2 separate regions of the Homo sapiens genome follow, and region 1 is linked to region 2. Evidence: promoter capture Hi-C in human tissues and cell types (Jung and others, 2019). All regions are on one chromosome and are shown on one strand. The core of a region is centred on a gene start or on the middle of the fragment in contact, and the rest is flanking DNA. Distances in the headings are between cores, read along the strand shown. Region 1 holds the start of RBM39 (RNA binding motif protein 39). Region 2 holds the start of MAP1LC3A (microtubule associated protein 1 light chain 3 alpha).

Region 1 (4,846 bases), core at 1,745-4,244, 1.2 Mb before region 2:
TAAGCTGGGCATGGTGATGTGCACTTGTTTTTCTAGCTAATTGGGAGGCTGAGCTGGGAGGATTGCTTGAGCCCAGGAATGCAAGGTTACAGTAATCTATGATGTTGCCACTGCACTTCAGCCTGTGGGACAGTGTGAGACCCTGTCTCAATTAAAAAACGAAACAATTCTACTTGCTGTAGATTGTTGGGGACAAAAAACAAAACAAAACCAAACCACATGTATCTGATAAACATATACATTTAAAATGTACCCTTAATAATTAAAAAATTAAAAATCCACATTGGTAAAATACATTTAGTTTTCAGCCAAATTCTCTAAGTATATTCATTACCTTTTTGGCTCTATTTCAAGCTCTATTCCTCCATCTTTTGAAAGCAAAATGATGAAAGGGGAATTAATTTACATAGAAAGTTCATGAACCAGAGTTAGTGAAGTTTTGTAAAGTGAATGAGAAGCATCTTATGTTCGTGATATTTTCTTTTGTGTTAAGAGACAGGGTCTTGCTCTGCAGCCCAGGCTGGGGTGAAGTGGCACGTGATTCTAGCTGACTGCAGTCTTGAAGTCCTGGGCCCAAGCTATCCTCCCATCTCAGCCTCCTGAGTAGTTGGAACTACAGACATGCATCACCACGTCTGGCTAATTTTAAATTTTTTGTAGAGACAGGGTCTTGCTATATTGTCCAGGCTGGTCTCAAACTCCTGGACTCAAGCAATCCTCCTGCCTTGGCCTCTCAAAGTGCTGGGATAACAGGCCATGAGCCGCCATGCCTGGGGATATTTTCTTTTAAACATAAAAAATACTTGTTTCAGAAACTTGATTTTTCCAAACGGCTTTTCTTGATGATCTGCTAAGTTGCCATATTGCCTCTGATGGTCCTTGAGCAGAAAACTATTTAAGGGACCTTAAATCATCAAGCGACTTAGAGCTTAAATCCTTCCTCTTCCCAAACAAGAAGTCTAGCGGTTAAGGTCAAATTCTGTCATGTCATGTTCCTAAACAAACAAGAAAAACCAAGTGCCATCTTCATGCTTTCATTTTGCACTAGTCATAATACTGGAATTACCGAGGGGCAGGAAGAGATAGCAAAGGTTAGCTTGCTTTATTTCTGACATATTATGCTTCAATTTCCTGTGACAGTTTTCTTTTCTTTCTTTTTCTTTCTTTTTTTTTTGAGATGGAGTCTCGATCTCTGTCACCCAGGCTGGAGTGCAATGGCATGATCTCAGCTCACTGCAACCTCTGCCTCCCAGGTTCAAGTGATTCTCCTGCCTCAGCCTCCCGAGTAGCTGGGAATTGCAGGCGCCTGCCACCTAGTTTTTTTTTTATTTTTAGTAGAGACAGGGTTTCGCCATGTTGGTCAGGTCTTGAACTCCTGACCTCAGGCGGTCCACCCGCGTCGGCCTCCCAAAGTGCTGGGATTAGATGCATGAGCCACTGCGCCCAGCCTCCAGAGCGAGACTGTCTCAGAAATAAAATAAAAAGAGGATCTGAATTTTCAGAAAAAGGATTAAGGGAGTATTCTAACTACAAAATAACTGTTATTAATAATCCTCTAAGATAAATCCTAACCTGTGTGTAAAGTTAACCTGAGAGGCAAAACCACTTAACATCTATATTTGCTCTAAATAATTTTGTTTAGCAGAAACAGAAGTTAGCTGTTTTGAAGATCAAATATTTACCAGGCGTTTTACAGACATTATATCATTTAATCTTCACTATAGCCCTTCTGAGCCTTCATTCATTAATTTACTGAGGGTCCACTTGGGCAGACATGCCCTGCTAACCTCTAAAAATTCAGTACTGAGCATTACCTGCCTTCCTCAGTCTCAAGTAGCTTAGACTAGCTACTAAGTACGTCCTCTTTTAAATCAGGAAATGAAAGATCCCCTCTGAGAGGTTAATTTGCTTGTCCAAGGTCACACAGTGTTGCAGCAGCTAGTTACACTAATCAAGGCGTCTCATTTCCAATCTTTTCTGCCCTCAATCATTAGACTGTTAAGATTAGAGGGTAAGATTTTTGCTTTGAAGACTTCTTTCCAGTTTTTTTTCCCAGCATCTAGGAGGAAACCTCACACAGTACTGACCAAAGAACAAATGGCTAATTCATACTCTAATTACCTGGCATCTAGAAGACTTCAGGGGAGAGGAGCCAGGTCCCAGGGGGAAGGGGGCCTTTTTTTTTTTGTTGGGGGGGTGTCTTATTTTTTCACCAAATCGTCCAGTAATATTCAGGAAGGGGAACATTTTTGAAGGAACGGTAGCAACCCTGACACAAGAGCTGATTAAATTCGGGGCACAAAACTGATCCCATGCCAAGGGAAGCAAGAGTTTATTTTTTCCACCTTTTTTTTGCTTTTCTCCACTATTTCCAAGGTTGTTTCAAAGCTCGACAGTGGAGGCCGCGCCATTGGCTCCAAATGACAGGGAAATCTATTTTTATTATCTCCCCCTCTCCCCCTACCCCTAAAGATCTCTTCTTCTGGCCTTCTGATACACTTTTCCACTTCCTCTCCACCCTCAGCGGATAATCTGAATATGGCCGTTTTATCCTATCGCCATAAGGACTAGGTTGCCTTATGGCGACCTTGACAGCCATCTGTGTGGGAGGCCGGAGCGGGGGCGATCGGCTGTGCCGGAGGAATCTTCAGATGGCCGTGAGGAGGCGCCACGAGGGGGAGGTGACCGCTGAGCTCCACTCAGCGAAGAGCTCTCTGAAAGATTGACAGGCAGCCTACCAACTGTCTTTGCCCTAGAGACCCGCTCTGTCTCGCGAGATTTGGGTGCTTACGCGGAGGGGGAGTGAAAGGCGCCTCACTGAATGGGGGATGGGAATATCTGTGGCGCAATCATTGCGCGAGATTGGGCTACGGTCGCCGGAGCCATACTTAGGTCTCGCGATACTTCGGCCGCTCAAATTTGGAGCTTGGGGCAGCTTCTCGCGAGAGCCCGTGCTGAGGGCTCTGTGAGGCCCCGTGTGTTTGTGTGTGTGTATGTGTGCTGGTGAATGTGAGTACAGGGAAGCAGCGGCCGCCATTTCAGGGAGCTTGTCGACGCTGTCGCAGGGGTGGATCCTGAGCTGCCGAAGCCGCCGTCCTGCTCTCCCGCGTGGGCTTCTCTAATTCCATTGTTTTTTTTAGATTCTCTCGGGCCTAGCCGTCCTTGGAACCCGATATTCGGGCTGGGCGGTTCCGCGGCCTGGGCCTAGGGGCTTAACAGTAGCAACAGAAGCGGCGGCGGCGGCAGCAGCAGCAGCAGCAGCAGCAATCTCTTCCCGAACACGAGCACCACAGGCGCCCGAAGGCCGGAACAGGTACGGGGCGTTGCGGACCCGCGTATTATCTCAGCTTTCTCGAGGTTTGGCTCCATTTTGGGCTGAGGGGCGCTTTTGGAGGTCTTTAGCGACCGGGGTGGGGGGTGGTTTTCGAGAAATCGGCCCTGTTTCAGTGACCGCGCCCTTATTTTCCAGTCGGGTATAGTCTGGATTCTTGGGGCGGTAGGGACCCCCGAGAGGCCGCGGTAGAATGGTGACCTGTCTCCTTCGAGGCCTGGGCCGGCCGCGACCTCCCAACATGGCGCCAGTTGAACGCTGCCTTGGCTCATAACCCCTCCCAATGGAGGGAGTTTCTCTTTGCCCCTAAAATGGCAGCGCGGGTTTTTGCCCGGAAAGAGGCGCTCTCGTTCGGGTCTCCCAGTTTCTGTTTTTGGAGTTGACAGCAGAGTTTTAAATATTGGATATTGAAGTCTTCATTTTCGTGTGTTTCGTGTAAGAGGCGTTTTGGATTTACTTACGTAAGCCAAACCTGGTTAAAGTGCATGTCACTTTAGTCATTAATTGTAGGGCTTTTGGAGGTTTTTCTTAAGTTTTCGAGTGTGTCGGCTGAGAAGAAAAATTCAGTCGATTTGAAAAACGTTTACCAGGCCGGGCGCGGTGGCTCACGCCTGTAATCCCAGCAGTTTGGGAGGCAGAGGCAGGCGGATCACTTGAGGTTAGGAGTTCGAGACCAACCTCATCAACATGGTGAAACCCCGTCTCTACCAAAAATACAAAAATTAGCCGGGCGTGGTGGCAGGCGCCTGTGATCCCAGCTATTCGGGAGGTGAGGTGGTAGGATCGCTGGAACCTGGGAGGCGGAGCTTGCAGTGAGCCGAGATCGCGCTACTGCACTTCAGCCTGGGCAACTAGAGCGAAACTCCGTCTCAAAAAAAAAAAAAAAAAAAAAGAAAAATGTTTACTCACGGAATCGTCTTGTTCTTTTCCTAGGCGTTTAGAGAAAATGTTAGACGATATAGGCAACAAGAGTGAAACTTGTTTCACATTGTAAGAGAAATGTTTACTCAAGAAATTGTCTTGTTCTCTTCCTAGGCGTTTAGAGAAAATGGCAGACGATATTGATATTGAAGCAATGCTTGAGGCTCCTTACAAGAAGGTGAGAAAAAACATGTCGGTGAGGTTTATATATTTCTTAATTTAGCATTATTCACGAAACTACTGCTGAAATGTAAACTAACCTCCCCGGAGCCCTCTTGATTTATCTTATCAGAGATGCATTACGTGTAACTTACAAAAGTAAATATATGCTATTGATGTAATAATATTGTGCAGTAGTTTCACTTCAGCGTGATGAATAAATGCCCATCTATCTCTCTTTGTAGACTTGCCTAACGATATCTCACCTCTACTCCCATGAATTCACCTTTGATTCCAGTGTGAACTGTCAATCATAAGGTAGTAATTGAGTGACTTATCGCTGTACCGTGGTCCCCTAGGTAAAATGACTCAACTAAGAATTACCACCTCCAGTTTGGTATAGCAAAAAGGTGAATGTAGTGGTTTGGGAAAAAG
Region 2 (4,891 bases), core at 2,170-4,669:
CCTTGGCAAATCCCTATTCCTTTCTGGGCCTCCTTGAAGAGACAGTGGGCTGAGCTTCTAGGCTCCCTTTGATTCTTCTGTGTGTGGCCCAGAATGGGACAGACAGACTGAGCTGGGCACAGAAATACCATAGTGACAGAACCATTCGAAGACCCTGCCCTGATGGAGGCCCCGGGCCAGGGGAGGAGGCACAGTCAGGCTGTCAGCTGAATGGAAAATTACACTTTCGATGAGTCTGTTATCGAGTAGAGATTAGTGGGGCCAAGAACTAATCTGGGGGGCAAGTGATCCTTCCTGAGCCCTGAAGAGTAAGCAGCTGTCAACTAGATGAACGGGGAGAGAACATTCCAGGCAGAAGAAACAGTAAAGATCCTGCCGTGGGGTGAGGTGGAGCCGGGAGAGGGCGGACAGGGACCCTAGCAAGGTCTCAGAGCACGAGGGAGTTCGAGCTTTGCCCTAAGGCTTGGGAAGCCTTTGGAGGATTTGAAGGCTGGAAGTAACACCATCAGATGTGGGTTTTGAAAAGCTCCCTCTGGCTGCCAGGGAGAATGGGGTGGGCACGGGTTTGAGAGCAGGGAGCCCAAGGACCAAGCTTTGCTGTTGTTTAGGAGATGAGATGACAGTGGCTCTGTCCAGAGTAGTGACTGTGGGGATGGATCCAAAGGGTGGATTTGAGTTTAGGGGGAATTGACAGGTCATGGTGGCTCGATGTATGAGAGAAGTGTCAGGGCAATTTTGTGGCCTGGGCACCTGGCTGGAAGATGGGGGCATGGATGCTGAGTGGGAGAAGTGTATTTGACAGAGGGAAGGTGAGGAGTTTGATGTGGACCTGGCTGGGATGGAAGTGGCTGTGGGAGGATGGGGCAGAGGCCTCTGGTTGCACAGGCACCAGGCTGGCATTCGAGGCCAGAGCCTGGGATGGAGGTGTAGACCATGGGTGGGGGCAGGGGGAGTCCAGGCAGCTTCTGAGAGGCCAGACCTTGCAGGGTCAATTATGGGCCCTGAGGTGGGGGCCCTGAGGAGGGCCTCTCCAGTGATTGTGATCCAGAGCCAGGCAGGGGCGTTCCTGTCTTCCAACAACACCTGCCAGCAGTTCAGGGATCCTGGGTTTAGGGGGAGGTACCCAGCAGCGCCTCACACCCTCTCTCTCCCCCCAGATCCTGCTCATCTCTGATTACTTCTATGCCTTCCTGCGGCGGGAGTACTACCTCACACATGGCCTCTACTTGACCGCCAAGGATGGCACAGAGGCCATGCTCGTGCTCAAGTAGGCCTGGCTGGCACAGGGCTGCATGGACCTCAGGGGGCTGTGGGGCCAGAAGCTGGGCCAAGCCCTCCAGCCAGAGTTGCCAGCAGGCGAGTGCTTGGGCAGAAGAGGTTCGAGTCCAGGGTCACAAGTCTCTGGTACCAAAAGGGACCCATGGCTGACTGACAGCAAGGCCTATGGGGAAGAACTGGGAGCTCCCCAACTTGGACCCCCACCTTGTGGCTCTGCACACCAAGGAGCCCCCTCCCAGACAGGAAGGAGAAGAGGCAGGTGAGCAGGGCTTGTTAGATTGTGGCTACTTAATAAATGTTTTTTGTTATGAAGTCTACCCTGAGACCACATCTGCATTGCACTCCTAGAGGGGGTGGCCCCTAATAATGTTCTGGAACACTACACACAGGTGTGGGTTTCCAGAGCGAGCACCGCGGCCACAGAACACAAGTCTGTGCGCCAGAGCCCGGGGATGGTGCGGGCAGCCCCACCAGCACCCTCCCCACTCCCAAGCAAGCGGCTGGAGGCACAGGGCCAGGCAGGCCTGAGCAATCTTTATTCTGCAGAGGGACAATGACCACAGATCCATACACCACGTGGAGACCGAGGGGCGGGGAGCCAGGGGCCAGTCTTTCAGGGGTGGGCAGGTCCAGGCGGTGGGCAGAGCCTCGGGTGGGTGAGGGGCAGATGGGCAGACAGGCAGGGGCCTAAAAAAAAGATGAACCACACAGCAGGGGTGCTGGGAGCTGCTCCCCACCCTCCCCCATCCCACCAGCCAGCACCCAGAGGGACAACCCTAACACGACCGGCCCAGGATCCACCCAGGGGCAGAGTAGGTGGGTTGGTGCCCTCTGACTAGGGGGGCACATGCCTGCCCAGCCCACCACGGTAGAGGCAGCTCAGTTCAGGAACCAGGAGCTCTCTGGGCAGGGCCTGACCGGGGCCGCCCGACTCCCAGGCCGAGCCCCCCTACTGCTGGCTCAGAAGCCGAAGGTTTCCTGGGAGGCGTAGACCATATAGAGGAAGCCGTCCTCGTCTTTCTCCTGCTCGTAGATGTCCGCGATGGGCGTGGACACACTCACCATGCTGTGCTGGTTCACCAGCAGGAAGAAGGCCTGCGTGGGGTTCAGCTGCAGGCGGCGCCTGCAGCCGGCGGGAGAGTATGCAGCTGTGAGGGGCTTGGCTGCGGGACGGACATAGCCCTGACCCCCAGAATGATTCCCAGCCTTTCACACCCATTCTCACCCCAGCTGTCACCTCTGACCCAACACCGACTGCAGCCCCGACCTTGACCTTTCCAGCCACCCCAGAACAGGGGCCCACCGCCCGGTCCCATCACCCCTGACCCCACTCCCACCCCTTCTCGGCGGGAACCCGGCTCCCCTCCCGACCCTAGCCACCTCCTGGCGGCGGCTGCCCACGCACCGGATGATCTTGACCAACTCGCTCATGTTGACATGGTCCGGGACCAAAAACTTGGTCTTGTCCAGGACGGGCAGCTGCTTCTCACCCTTGTAGCGCTCGATGATCACCTGGGAGCAGGGCGGGCGGGCAGGGGGTCGTGTCGGGAACGCGCGAGGCGGGGGCGGGGCAGGGCTGGGGGTGCGGGACTCACCGGGATTTTGCTGGGGTGCTGGTCGCGGATCTGCTGTACCTCCTTACAGCGGTCGGCTGCGGACAGCGGCCAGACCGTGAGGCCGGGTCGGGCCGGCCCAGGTCCGCCCCGCCTGTCCCGGAGGGGCGGCCCCCGGCCACGCCCCAGCTCCAGCCCCCACCCCCGGGGCCATCAGGCCCCACAGCCCCTGGCACCTATCGCGGTGGGGAAGCGGGCAGCCCCCGCCCAGGCCGGAGCTGGTCCCAGCCCGAGGGTCCAGCCAGAGCCTGACGTCACGGGGCTGACGTCACCTGCGGCAGTCGGGGTCGGCCGGCACCCCTGCCCCAGAGCTCGCAGCTCGCCTGCCGGGCCTCACCGAAGCTCCGCCGCTGCTTGAAAGGCCGGTCTGAGGGCATCGCGCGGGCCCGGCTGGGCGCGCAGGCCGGGGCTCTGGGGCGCGGGGATGTGTCTGCGGTTTGGGGGCTCCGGGGGCTCCGCGCCTCGCGCTCAAGGGCTCCGGGGCTCGCGCTGAGCACGGCGGCTGCGGCTGCGGGAGGTAACTCGCCCGGTGACGTCAGGTCACAACATTCCTTAAAGGGGAGGCCAGTGCGCCGCTCCCATTGGGCCGACGCACAACCCGCCCGCCCGGACCCGTGACGTCACGGCGCAGAGAGCCTGGGTCCGCGGACCGGGACGCGAGGGGCGGGGCTTCTGGGCGCGTCACAGTCCCGTGACGTCATGGGCAGCGCGGGAGCTTCTCCCGCAGCCCGAACTCAAGGTAAGGCCCGGAGGGCGGTGGGGCCGCCCTAGGCCGATGGAGCGGGCGGGCCAGGCTGCAGCCCCACGGCACCACTTCCCGCCCTCACCGAGTCTGTGTCAGGACTGACGCGGTTCTGGGCGCCGTGGGAAACAGCCGGAGCCAAAGGCCCGGCGCCTTCACGGGGCTTAGGGCGAGAGAAGGGAGAAGGTGCGGGAGGCACAGTCAGACACAGGATAGAACAGGATGCTAGAAATGAACGCCCAGGTTTGAAAAAGAATAATATAATTGAAAAGTAGAGCCATCGAAATTCAGGTCTCAGAGGATGAGGTGAGAAGGCAGAAAAGGACAACAGAAGAGAAATCGTGGACCTGGAGGCTGATCGGAAGCAGCTCACCAGAGAGACAGGTGATGGGGAATAAGGAAAAGGGCACAGATGGCAACGCCAGGAGAACTCGCGGGCCCGAGCAGAGCTCCAGAGGCGAACACTGAAAGACCTGCAGAGACAGTTCCTGAAAAAGAGCTGCCAGAAATGATGCTTAAAATCCAGAGCAGAATGCGCAGACTGAAGATCAACATTTTTTTGGGGGAGGGGGGAGGGGGACGAAGTCTCGTTCTGTCGCCAGGCTGGGGTGCAGTGGTGCGATCTCAGCTCACTGCAACCTCTGCCTCCCGGGTTCAAGCGATTCTCCTGCCTCAGTCAGCCTCCTCAGTAGCTGGGATTACAGGCGCCTGCCACCACCCCCAGCTAATTATTGTATTTTTAGTAGAGATGGAGTTTCACCATGTTGGCCAGGATGGTCTCGATCTCCTGACCTCGTGATCCACTCGCCTCGGCCTCCCAAAGTGCTGGGATTACAGGTGTGAGCCACCACGCCTGGCCGCCGAAATAATTTTTAAAGAATGTAGTTTAGTAACAAGGACATGGAACCCAAAAGGAAGAAATTAGATGGAAAAATGGTGAGCAAATTGGTAAACATGTGAATCTAAACAAGCATTTAATATGCAATATGAATAATAATGATTAATTTGTGGGCCACAGAAACAAGATGCATGAGACACAAGAACATGGAAGACTGAGAGGGCAATTTGAGAGGGGGTTAAAGAGACTGAGCATTGTCTGGCTTTGTAAAGTCAGGTGTGTATTTCAGATATTTAAGAGGATCACCAAAAGAATACAAACGGAACTATAACTGCCAATGCAGAGAAAAGGGTAGTGATGGGTATTAAAACTATAATGGAAGGCAGAAAGGGAGAAAAAGGAAGCAAAGTAAAAGGGATG

Evidence for each region. The method cuts DNA at HindIII sites, captures the fragments that hold promoters and counts their contacts. A contact is called where the count stands out against the background at its distance.
Region 1: a contact is called between the fragment with the promoter of RBM39 here and the fragment with the promoter of MAP1LC3A in region 2, in 1 of the 25 tissues and cell types used here (dorsolateral prefrontal cortex).

Annotation. Positions count from the first base shown.
Region 1 is chr20:35,740,408-35,745,253 of GRCh38, reverse strand. RBM39 (RNA binding motif protein 39) reads left to right here and starts at 2,994. Exons shown (of 17, transcript NM_184234.3): 1 at 2,994-3,313; 2 at 4,367-4,430. The coding sequence starts at 4,380. RefSeq lists enhancers at 2,555-2,654, 2,825-3,044, 2,406-3,091, 3,105-3,254 and a silencer at 3,515-3,614. The HindIII fragment of the contact is 31,582 bases long and covers 1-4,846 here.
Region 2 is chr20:34,557,246-34,562,136 of GRCh38, reverse strand. MAP1LC3A (microtubule associated protein 1 light chain 3 alpha) reads right to left here and starts at 3,419. Exons shown (of 4, transcript NM_032514.4): 1 at 3,229-3,419; 2 at 2,874-2,929; 3 at 2,684-2,790; 4 at 1,792-2,401. The coding sequence starts at 3,268. The coding sequence ends at 2,239. It overlaps PIGU (phosphatidylinositol glycan anchor biosynthesis class U), which reads left to right. Exons shown (of 12, transcript NM_080476.5): 12 at 1,158-1,595. The coding sequence ends at 1,271. RefSeq lists silencers at 1,614-1,663, 3,238-3,287, 3,628-3,717. The HindIII fragment of the contact is 19,125 bases long and covers 275-4,891 here.